2 separate regions of the Homo sapiens genome follow, and region 2 is linked to region 1. Evidence: promoter capture Hi-C in 16 types of primary human blood cells and fetal thymus (Javierre and others, 2016). All regions are on one chromosome and are shown on one strand. Each heading gives the region's core, a stretch centred on a gene start or on the middle of the fragment in contact. The rest is flanking DNA. Distances are from core to core; before and after follow the strand shown.

The links. Contacts are between HindIII fragments. The CHiCAGO score rates a contact against its expected background, and 5 or more counts as called.
Region 2: a contact is called between a fragment that was not itself captured here and the fragment with the promoter of GBP7 in region 1, in 3 of 17 cell types (total CD8 T cells, non-activated CD4 T cells and activated CD4 T cells). The highest score is 5.3, in total CD8 T cells.

What each region holds. Positions count from the first base shown.
Region 1 is chr1:89,173,118-89,177,957 of GRCh38, forward strand. GBP7 (guanylate binding protein 7) reads right to left here and starts at 2,886. Exons shown (of 11, transcript NM_207398.3): 1 at 2,804-2,886. All of the region lies in intron 3 of LOC105378842 (a long non-coding RNA gene), which reads left to right. The HindIII fragment of the contact is 1,918 bases long and covers 1,340-3,257 here.
Region 2 is chr1:89,316,693-89,321,703 of GRCh38, forward strand. No RefSeq gene overlaps it. Among named protein-coding and RNA genes, the nearest start is that of GBP6, 45 kb to the right of the region's middle. The HindIII fragment of the contact is 2,856 bases long and covers 1,815-4,670 here.

The DNA.
Region 1 (4,840 bases), core at 1,636-4,135:
TATTCTAGAAAAAATATCTGTATTTTTCCTGCTTTATCCCTAGAATCTAACATTTCTCCCAGTATCTTTGGTTTCTTTCAATGGATAATGGTACTTTGACACCAATATATCACTCTAGGTGTGTTCATTATTTCTAGACCCACTCAGGGGCAAAGTTAAGAAATATATGTATGTATACTAGGACACATCTATATTTATTTTTATCTGTACATTTCTATAATAAAGCTTGAGATTCTGTTGATATTTCCAGTTCCAATCCAACACATCTGAGCTTATTCAAGCTTTTGACTTTCCTTTTTAAACTATTTTCTCCAAGTAAGCTAGACTTTGGTCTTCTAACACATAATACATTTGTTTCCTTGCTCAGTCCTAGTATATTCATATAGTAGTTTCAAAATTGATAATAAGTCTGTGGAAAAATAAATTTACTTCCTATAGAAAATTATTAGTGTACAGTTCTTTTGGTCTTTAGCCTTATATACACACTCAAAACATTGCATTCCAAAGTTGCTTAGGTTAGCTTTTTCCTTCTCCACCTTCTTCAGTATGGTTAAATTATTCATTTGTAAAACAGTTAGTTACATTTGTTACTGTTTGTGTTTCAGTTTGGCCTCCTTCACATCTTGGTATCTTGGTTGATTTTAAGTATGATTTATTTTTTGAGTTTGTGAAACATCATGGTTCTGAAATGCAGAGCTTTTCAAAAAGTTACAGTCAGAGAAGTGTCACTTTTCCTTCATCTTACCACTCCACTCACATTGCAGTGGTCTTCTATTCTTTCTACCACATTCCCACCCATCCTCCATAGATACCCAATCTTGTTAGTTTCTGGTTTACGCTTCTTGGATTTTCTTTTCTCAAATGAGAATGTACATATTTTCTTTTTCACATTTTCTAACACGAAGATCACATCATATAGAAATTTGGAAATCCCTCCACATCTGTTCATAGAAAGCTTTTAAAATCCTTTTAACATGTATCTACTCCTTTATGTGGATTATACCCCAGTTTATTCAATCACTCTTCAATGTATGGGCATTTAGATTGTTTCAAATATTTTGCAATTACAAACAATGCTGCAATGAATAACTCTGCTAACGTTATGCATGTGTATTTTTATATTGTTACAGGAGTAATTTCAGGATAGAGTCCTACCAACGGGATTGCTTGGTCAAAAGATGAGAGTATATAATTTTGTAGATATTGCCAAGTTCCTCTCCAGAAAGTTGTACAAGGTTGCATTCCCACCAGCTCATCTTGTATGTCATTTTCTAGAAAATGGAATTTTTCCTAGGTGCCCCGCTTGCTCTTCTGAATTAATTACAAAATTTCCTTTGGAAGCTTTTCACGTTCACATTTAGATCTTTGGACTGAGCAAAGCTGAGCTCGCTGAGCTCATGTATATAGTAGTAGTAATCTTCACCTGGGAAACATTGTGTTATACATATCTCTATACTTTGAAACATAGATACCATTCTAACCCATTCTTGGTCCTGATTTCTTGCAAGCCCCTCTGTGGGCAGGGTCTGGTCAGACTGTGGGACTCAGGTTACCCAATGGCTTCCTCCTCTCACTGTGCATCAGCATTCACACGTTATTCATGCAAGCCTGATAGCTCGCACCTGACACTTACTCTGTTGATTTTTGACTTGATTATGTTAACAGATTTTGAATTCTCTGCATTTGAAGATTGATTCTTTATTACCTCCATGTATATCAGTCTGCATATTGTTTTTAATTATTTCATGTAATGAAGTCACAGCATGAAACATTCTTTGAAAAACCATGGCTTGTTTTTTGTCTGATCTCTGCTGTATAGAGAGTAGCATATGCACAATTGTAATCATGCTATCTTTATCCAGGGCTTGATAAATTAAATATTTTGATAATTTTGTAAAGTTAAAAGGAGTGAAAAGCCTTCTTGTAGTGATGCTTTAATTTTGTGTTTTTAAGTTGAATGTCTCAATCCTTGTAACTTATGTGATCATGATACAAAATATATAATCTCTTTAAGATACAAGCAAATATAGATGATAGATACTGCAGTTTTCTTTTTTATCCTATAATAAAGAGTGGTTTGTTTCCACTATAGAGTTGGTTACTTCTGACTTGTTCCTCTGGAGGTTTATATTAAATTATCTGGCTTCCCATCACTTCAGCAGAAGATGGAAAAAAAGCCGTTTATTTTTCTGTGATCATGACCCATTTCCTCTTATAGCAATGGCCTACAGGATCTGCTGGCAAGCAAGAAGGGCAAACCAGAAACTAAAAAGATTGGGTATCTATGGAAGATGAGTGAAAACAGAGTATGCGTCTGTCCAATTCTGTAGCATATACTATGCTACCATAACATAGGAATCAATCAGTCACCGGCTCAGAAAGGTGGTGGCACAAAGATGTTATAAGGTCCTGGATTATAATAATGTGTTGCCTCTTTTTGCAGATCCCAAGTTGCCTACCTTCATTTACCTAGAGCTATAAATGTTGGGCCCAATAAAGAAAGTGACAGAGCCTATTAGGCAGATATTTAAAGATAACAGTAATTTAAGATGGTGTCAGAAAAGAAATAACAATCTTAGAACACTGGCTTCTCTGAATATCTGTTCCACCTCTGCTGAAGCCTAATCTGACACAGCAGGAATTAGAGCACACTAAGGTACACACAGCCACCTAAGAGGCCAGGATTTCATCTGGACTTGTATCCTGTAGCTGGCTCAGCTGCAGCCTATCTTGGGGATGGTCAACTTAGAGAAAACTAATGGATCCTTATAAATCATGAAATCCTTATAAGTCATAGTCTTACCCAGAGTAGAGATCCTCTGGACTTGGTAAGAAGGCAGCTTCAATGAGAAAGTTATGAGTCTTTATTCTCTTCTCTTTAGTTCTGAATTTGGCTGCACTGATTTCTCCCACTTTTTTTCTTGCTGGAACTTTGGACTTTTACCTTACCTCTCCAATGTCATGGGGCTTTCCAGACTTTCTAGAGACCTGTATTTATACATGTAAAAAACAATGCAACCTCTGCAAATAAATAGAGTAATATGACAGTCCATGATTTAGCAACAATAAAAGAAATTGCTGACAGCTGTGCTAGTGAGAGGATTTGACATAATTTCTCAAACAGAATCTTCCAATTTTATTATTGGAAGAGATCTTAGAGACAGCTTGCGATTATTAAAAAAACTTCAATGAATCGTTTAAAATAATGACATTCATCTCATGTTTGTGGGCCACATTGAGAAGTACAGGAATAAGAAAGCTTAATATAATATTATTTAGGTTCAATTGGCTTGAATATTAGACTCTTAAAATGGAACTCATTATTTGTGTTTAATAATGAGGACTCTAAATGCCCTGAAGGAATGTCCACGTCTTATACATGTTTGAATTATTAGCACCTAACTCAGGTCTTGGCACTTAACATTTAATAAATAATAATGAAGATAGTACCCGTTTTGTTTACATAGATTATCCCATTGTATTCTTATCACAAATACTTTTACCACAATGTTAAAAGAGGGATTTAATAATTTATTACAATTACAGAGCTACTAAATAAGATTTGGGCCCAAGAAGTCTTGCTGTCAGTCACTTCATTAAAATACCTCTGTGTTTGCTGAGTGTACAATAACAATGTTTTCTCCTTATCAGTTCCATTCTAGGCCATATTCTTTACACATACCATTTTAAATATCAAAATACCTCAAGATAAAGGTTGTTTATTATCCCCATTGTCCAAGGGGGAAAAATAATCAGAAAACGGGTAATTAATATGTCTAACTAAAGCCATTGAGCTACACACCAAGGTAGCAAGTAATTGAGCGAGATTCAAACTTGAAAATCCATTTGGTTAAAACCACATTGATTCTCTACTGCACATTGTCTCTAAAAGAGAGGAAGGTGGGAAGCGGGGAAGAGAGAGAGAGAAATGGAGAGCAGAGAGTAAGACTTCTCTGTGTGTGTGTGAATATTGATGAGATTTAAAGTGAAAGTAAGGCAGGGTTATTTCAAAACAGAACTATTGCTAGGAAATCACCTGCTTCTAAGTAATAAAATCTATTGTTTATATCATGCAAACAAAAAATAGCCCCAGGCAAAATTGAATCTTTGTGAATCATGTATAATTTAAGGGTACATAAATTTATAAGAAAAAAAGATCCCACTTTCCCAACTTGTGTTTTTTTTTTTTGAGACAGAGTTTCTCTCTTGTTGCCCAGGCTGGAGTGCAATGGTACAATCTTCGCTCACTGCAACCTCCACCTCCTGGGTTCAAGCGATTCTCCTGTCTCAGCCTCCTGAGTAGCTAGGATTACAGGCATGAGCCACCAAGCCCGGCTAATTTTGTATTTTTAGTAGAGATGGAGTTTCTCTATGTTGGTCAGGCTGATGTCGAACTCCCAATCTCAGGTGATCCACCCGCCTCAGCCTCCCAAGGTGTTGGAATTACAGGTGTGAGCCACCATGCCAGACCCCAGCTTGTTTTTAGAGTGTTTCTTTAGAGACAAGTGGGCCAGAGTCCTTTCTTTAACCTTTTGAATACAAATAGAGCTTTCTAGGGGCTAAATATCAGTGCCAGCTTTACAACCCAGAGATGTCTTCAAGAGTCTGGGCTCCATGCCTTTTGAAATGGAAATATCCAGAAAGACAGAGACCCAGGCTTCCTGACACTTTGGGAGCTTAAGCCCGGTGCCTATCCTGTCTATAGCCATTTCTTCCAAGGGAGATAAATTTTAATATTCTTTTAGATAAGCAAATGGCTACCACATTTCCAAGGTGAGCATAGGATGAAGAATACAAGGAAGGTATAGCAAATTTGAGGATGTACCAGCAAATTGTGTTG
Region 2 (5,011 bases), core at 1,993-4,492, 140 kb after region 1:
TTGGGCAGACACTGAGCTAGATGCAGGAGGGTTTTTTTTTTTTTTCATATCCCAGTGGCACCTAGAACCCCAGAGAGACAGAACTGTTCACTCCCCTAGAATGGAGGCTGAAACCAGGGGGCCAAGTGGTCTCATTCAGTGGGTCCCACTCCCACAGAGCCCAGGAAGCTAAGAAATACTGGCTTGAAATTCTTGCTGCCAGTGCAGCAGCCTAAAGTCAACCTGGGATGATCAAGCTTGGTGCAGGGAGGGGCATCCGCCATTACTGAGGCTTTGATAGGTAGTTTTCTCCTGACAGTACTAAGGAGGCCTGGAAGTTCAGACTGGGTGGAACTCAACACAATGCGGCAAAGTGGCTGTGGCCAGACTGCCTCTCTAGATTCCTTTTTACTGGGCAGGGCATCTCTGAAAGTAAGGCAGCAGTCCCAGTCGGGGGCTTATAGATAAAACTCCATCTCCCTGGGACAGAGCACCTGGTGGAAGGGGCAGCTTTGGGCACAGCTTCAGCAGATTTAAATGTTCCTGCCTGCCAGCTCTGCAGAGAGCAGCAGATCCTGACAAGGAGGATTCTCCCAGCACAGTGCTCAAGCTCTGCTAAGGGACAGACTGCCTCCTTACTGGGATAGACCTCCCAACAGGGGTTCACAGACACGTCATACAGGAGGGATCTGGCGAGGATCAGGCCGGTAACCCTCTGGGATGAAGCTTCCAGAGGAAGGAGCAAGCAGCAATCTCTGCTGTTCTTCAGCCCCAATGGGTGATACCCAGGCAAATAGGGTCTGGAGTGGAGCTCCAGCAAACTGCAACAGACCTGCAGAAGAGAGGCCTGACCATTAGAAGAAAAAGTAACAAAGAGAAAGCAATAACATCAACATCAACAAAAAGACCCGCACACAGAAACCCCATCAAAAGGCCATCAGCCTCAAATATCAAAGGGAGATAAATACAGAAAATGAGGAAAAAACAGTGCAAATATGCTGAAAATTCCAAAAACTAGGATGCCTCTTCTCCAAATGATCACATCTCCTTTCCAGCAAGGGCGCAAAACTAGACAGACAATGAGTTTGATGAATAGACAGAAGTAGGCTTCAGAAGTAGGTAATAACAAACTGCTCTGAGCTAAAGGAGCATGTTCTAACCCAATTCAAAGAAGCTAAGAACCTTGACAAAAGGATACAGGAACTGCTAACTAGAATAACCAGTTTAGAGAAGAACATAAATGACCTGATGGAGCTGAAAAACACAGCATGAGAACTTCGTGAAGCATACACGAGTATCAATAGATGAATCAATCAAGCGGAAGAAAGGATAGAAGAGATTAAAGATCAACTTACTGAAAAAAGGCATGAAGATAAGATTAGAAAAAAAAGAATGGGAAGGAATGAACAAAGCCTCCAAGTAATATGGGACTATGTCAAAAGACCAAGCCTACAATTGATTGGGGTCCCTGAAAGTGATGGGGAGAATGCAACGAAGTTCAAAAACATACTTCAGGATATTATCCAGGAGAACTTCCCCAACCTAGCAAGACAAGTCAACATTCAAATTCAGGAAATACAGAGAACTTCACTAAGATACTCCTTGAGAAGAGTAACCCCAAGACACATAATCATCAGATTCTCCAAGGTTGAAATGAAGGAAAAATGTTGAGGGCTGCTAGAGAGAAAGGTCAGGTTACCTACAAAAGGAAGCTCATCAGACTAATAGCAGATCTCTCTGCAGAAACCCTACAAGCCCGAAGACAGTGGGGGTCAATATTCAACATTCTTAAATAGAAGAATTTTCAACCCAGAATTTCATATCCAGCCAAACTAAGCTTCATAAGCAAAGGAGAAATAAAATTCTTTACAGACAAGCAAATGCTGAGGGATTTTGTCACCACCAGGCCTGCCTTACAAGAGCTCCTGAAGGAAGCACTAAATATGGAAAGGAAAAACTGATACCAGCCACACCAAAAACAGACCAAAATATAAAGACCAATGACACTAGGAAGAAACTGCATCAACAAATGTGCAAAATAACTAGCTAGCATCATGATGACAGGATCAAATTCACACATAACAATGTTAACCTTAAATGTAAATGGGCCAAATGACCCAATTAAAAGACACAGACTGACAAATTGAATAAAAAGTCAAGATCCATTGGTGTGCTGTATTCAGAAGACCCATCTCATGTGCAGTCACACATAGGCTCAAAATAAAGGAATGAAGGAATATTTACCAAGCAAATGGAAATAAAAGAAAAAAAAAGCAGGGGTTGCAATGACAGTCATGATGAATGATCTTTCAAATTTGATGTTGAATTTGCTTTGCTGGTATTTTGTTGAGGATATTTGTATCAATATTAACCAGAGATATTAGCCTGTTGTTTTCTTTTTTTGATGTTTCTTTGCTTTTGGCATCAGGGTAATACCGGCCTTGTAGAATAAGTTTCATAGTATTCCCTCTCCTTCTTTTTTGGGGGAATAGTTTGAGTTGGATTGGTATTCTTTTTTAAATGTCTGGTAGAGTTCAGCATTGAGACCATTGGGTCCTGGGCTTTTCTTTGCTGGGAGACTTTTTATTATGGCTTTGATGTCATTACTTTTTATTGCTCTATTTAGGCTTCAGATTTCTTAATGGTTCAATCTTGGTAGGTTGTGTATGTCTAGGAATTTATCCACTTCTTTTAGGTTTTCCAATTTGTGGACATACAGTTGTTCATAGTAGTCCAGTGATTCTTTACATTTCTGCAGTATAAGTTGTAATGTCTCCTTTTTCATCTCTGATTTTATTTATTTGGGTCTTCTGTCTTTATCAGTTAGTCTGGCTAAAAGTTTGCCAATTTTCATTATCTTTTCAAAAAACCAACTTTTCTTTTTGATGACATTTAGTATTGCTTTTCTCATTTCAATTTCTTTTTTTTTCCTGCTCAGATCATTATTATGTCTTTTCTTCTACTAATGTTAGGTTTGGTTTGCTCTTGCTTTTCTAGTTCCTTAAGATGCATCATTAGATTATTTGAAGTATTGCTCCCTCTTTGTTGTAGGTGCTTATTGCTATAAACTTTCCTCTTAGTACCACTTTTGCTTATCCCATAAGTTTTGGTATGTTTTCTTTCCATTTGCATTTGTTTCAGGAATTCTTAAATTTGATTCTTGTTTTTTGACCCACTGGTCATTCAGGAGCAAATTGATTAATTTCCAAATGTTTGTGTTCCTTTTAAGTTTTCTCATATGCTTGATTTCTAGTTTTATTCCATTGTGGTCAGAGAAGATACTTGATATGTGTCAAGTATCATATTTACCTTTTTTGTATTTTTCAGACTGATTTTGTGGCTTAAAGTATAGTCTATACTTGAGGATGATCTATTTCCTGAGCAGAAGAACGTGTATTTTTCAACCCTTGGATGAAATAATCTGTAAATATCTATTAGGTCTTTTGGTCTATAGTATAGATTAGGTCTGATATTTTCTTTGTAATTTTTGTTTGGCTGATCTGTCCAATGCTGAAGGTGAGGTGTTGAAATCTCCAGCTGTTATTATACTGTGGTCTGTCTCTCTCTTTTGAACTAATAATATTTGCTTTATATATCTAGATGCTCCAGTATTGGGTGCATATATATTTACAATGGTTATATCCTCTTGCTATATTAATCCCTTTTACTCGTTACATAGTGACATTCTTTGTCTTTTTTATAGTTTTTATCTTGAAATGCTTTTATCTGATATAAGTATAGCTACTCCTGCTCTTTTTTTGGTTTCCATTGGCATGGAATGTCTTTTTCCTTCTTCTTATTTTCAGTTTGTGTGTGTCTTTATAGGTGAAGTGTGTTTCTTGTAGGCAACAGATCACTGGATTCTGTTTTTTTAATCCATTCGGCCTCTCTGTGTCTTTTGATTGGAGAGTATAGTCCATTTGCATTCAATGTTATTGTTGCTAAATAACAACTTACTCCTGCCATTTGGTTTTGTTTTCTGGTTGTTTGTGGTCTTCTCTTTCTTCTCTTCTTCCTTCATGTCTTTCTTTTTGTGAAAGTGATTTTCTTGTTGGTATGTTTTAAGTTCTTGCTCTATACATTTTTTGTGTATCTGTTGTAGGTTTTTTGATTTGTGGTTACCACAAGGCTTGCAACTAATATCTTGTAACTCATTATTTTACACTGATGACAGTTAAACTCTAATTGCTAAAATCTACAAAAAAAAACTGACAAGCAAAGAGAAAACTAATAACATTCAACACTTTAACTTCATCCTCTCTGCTTTTCAACTATTCGTTGTTTCTATTTATATCTTATTATACTATGTCTTAAAAAGTTGTTGTGGTTATTATTTTCGATAAATTTGTCTTTTACTCTTCCTATGCAAGGTATGAGTAGTTTACATACCACAATTACAGTGTCATATTATTTTATATTTGTCGGTATACTCACTGTTACCAGTGAATTTTATGTACTCAGATGATTTTTTTTTTGCTCATTAACATGCTTTCCTTTCAGATTGAAGTACTCTCTTTAGCATTTCTTTTAGGACAGGTCTTATGTTGATGAACTACCTCAGCTTTTGTTTGCTGGAAAAGTCTTTACTTTTCCTCTATGTTTGAAGGATATTTTCACTGGTATGATATTCTAGGATAAAAGATTTTTTTTTAGCAGTTTAAATATATTATACCACTTACTCCTGGCTAGTAAGCTTTCCACTGAGTAATATGTGCTAGACATATTGAAGCTCCTTTATATGTTTTTTTTTTTCTTTTCTCTTTTTGCTTTTAGTATGCCTTATTTATCCTTGACCTTTGGGAGTTTGATTATTAAACATATTGAGGTAGTCTTATTTGTGTTAAATCTGCCTGGTCTCCTATAATCTTCTTGTTCTTGAATATTGTTATCTTTCCCTAGGTTTGGTAATGTCTATTTTTATCCCTATGAATAAGATTTCTAACTCAGCCTCTCTTTACCTCCTCATTAAGGCCAATAACATTTAGATTTGCCTTTTTGAGGCTGTTTTCTAGATCCTATAGAGATGCTTCCT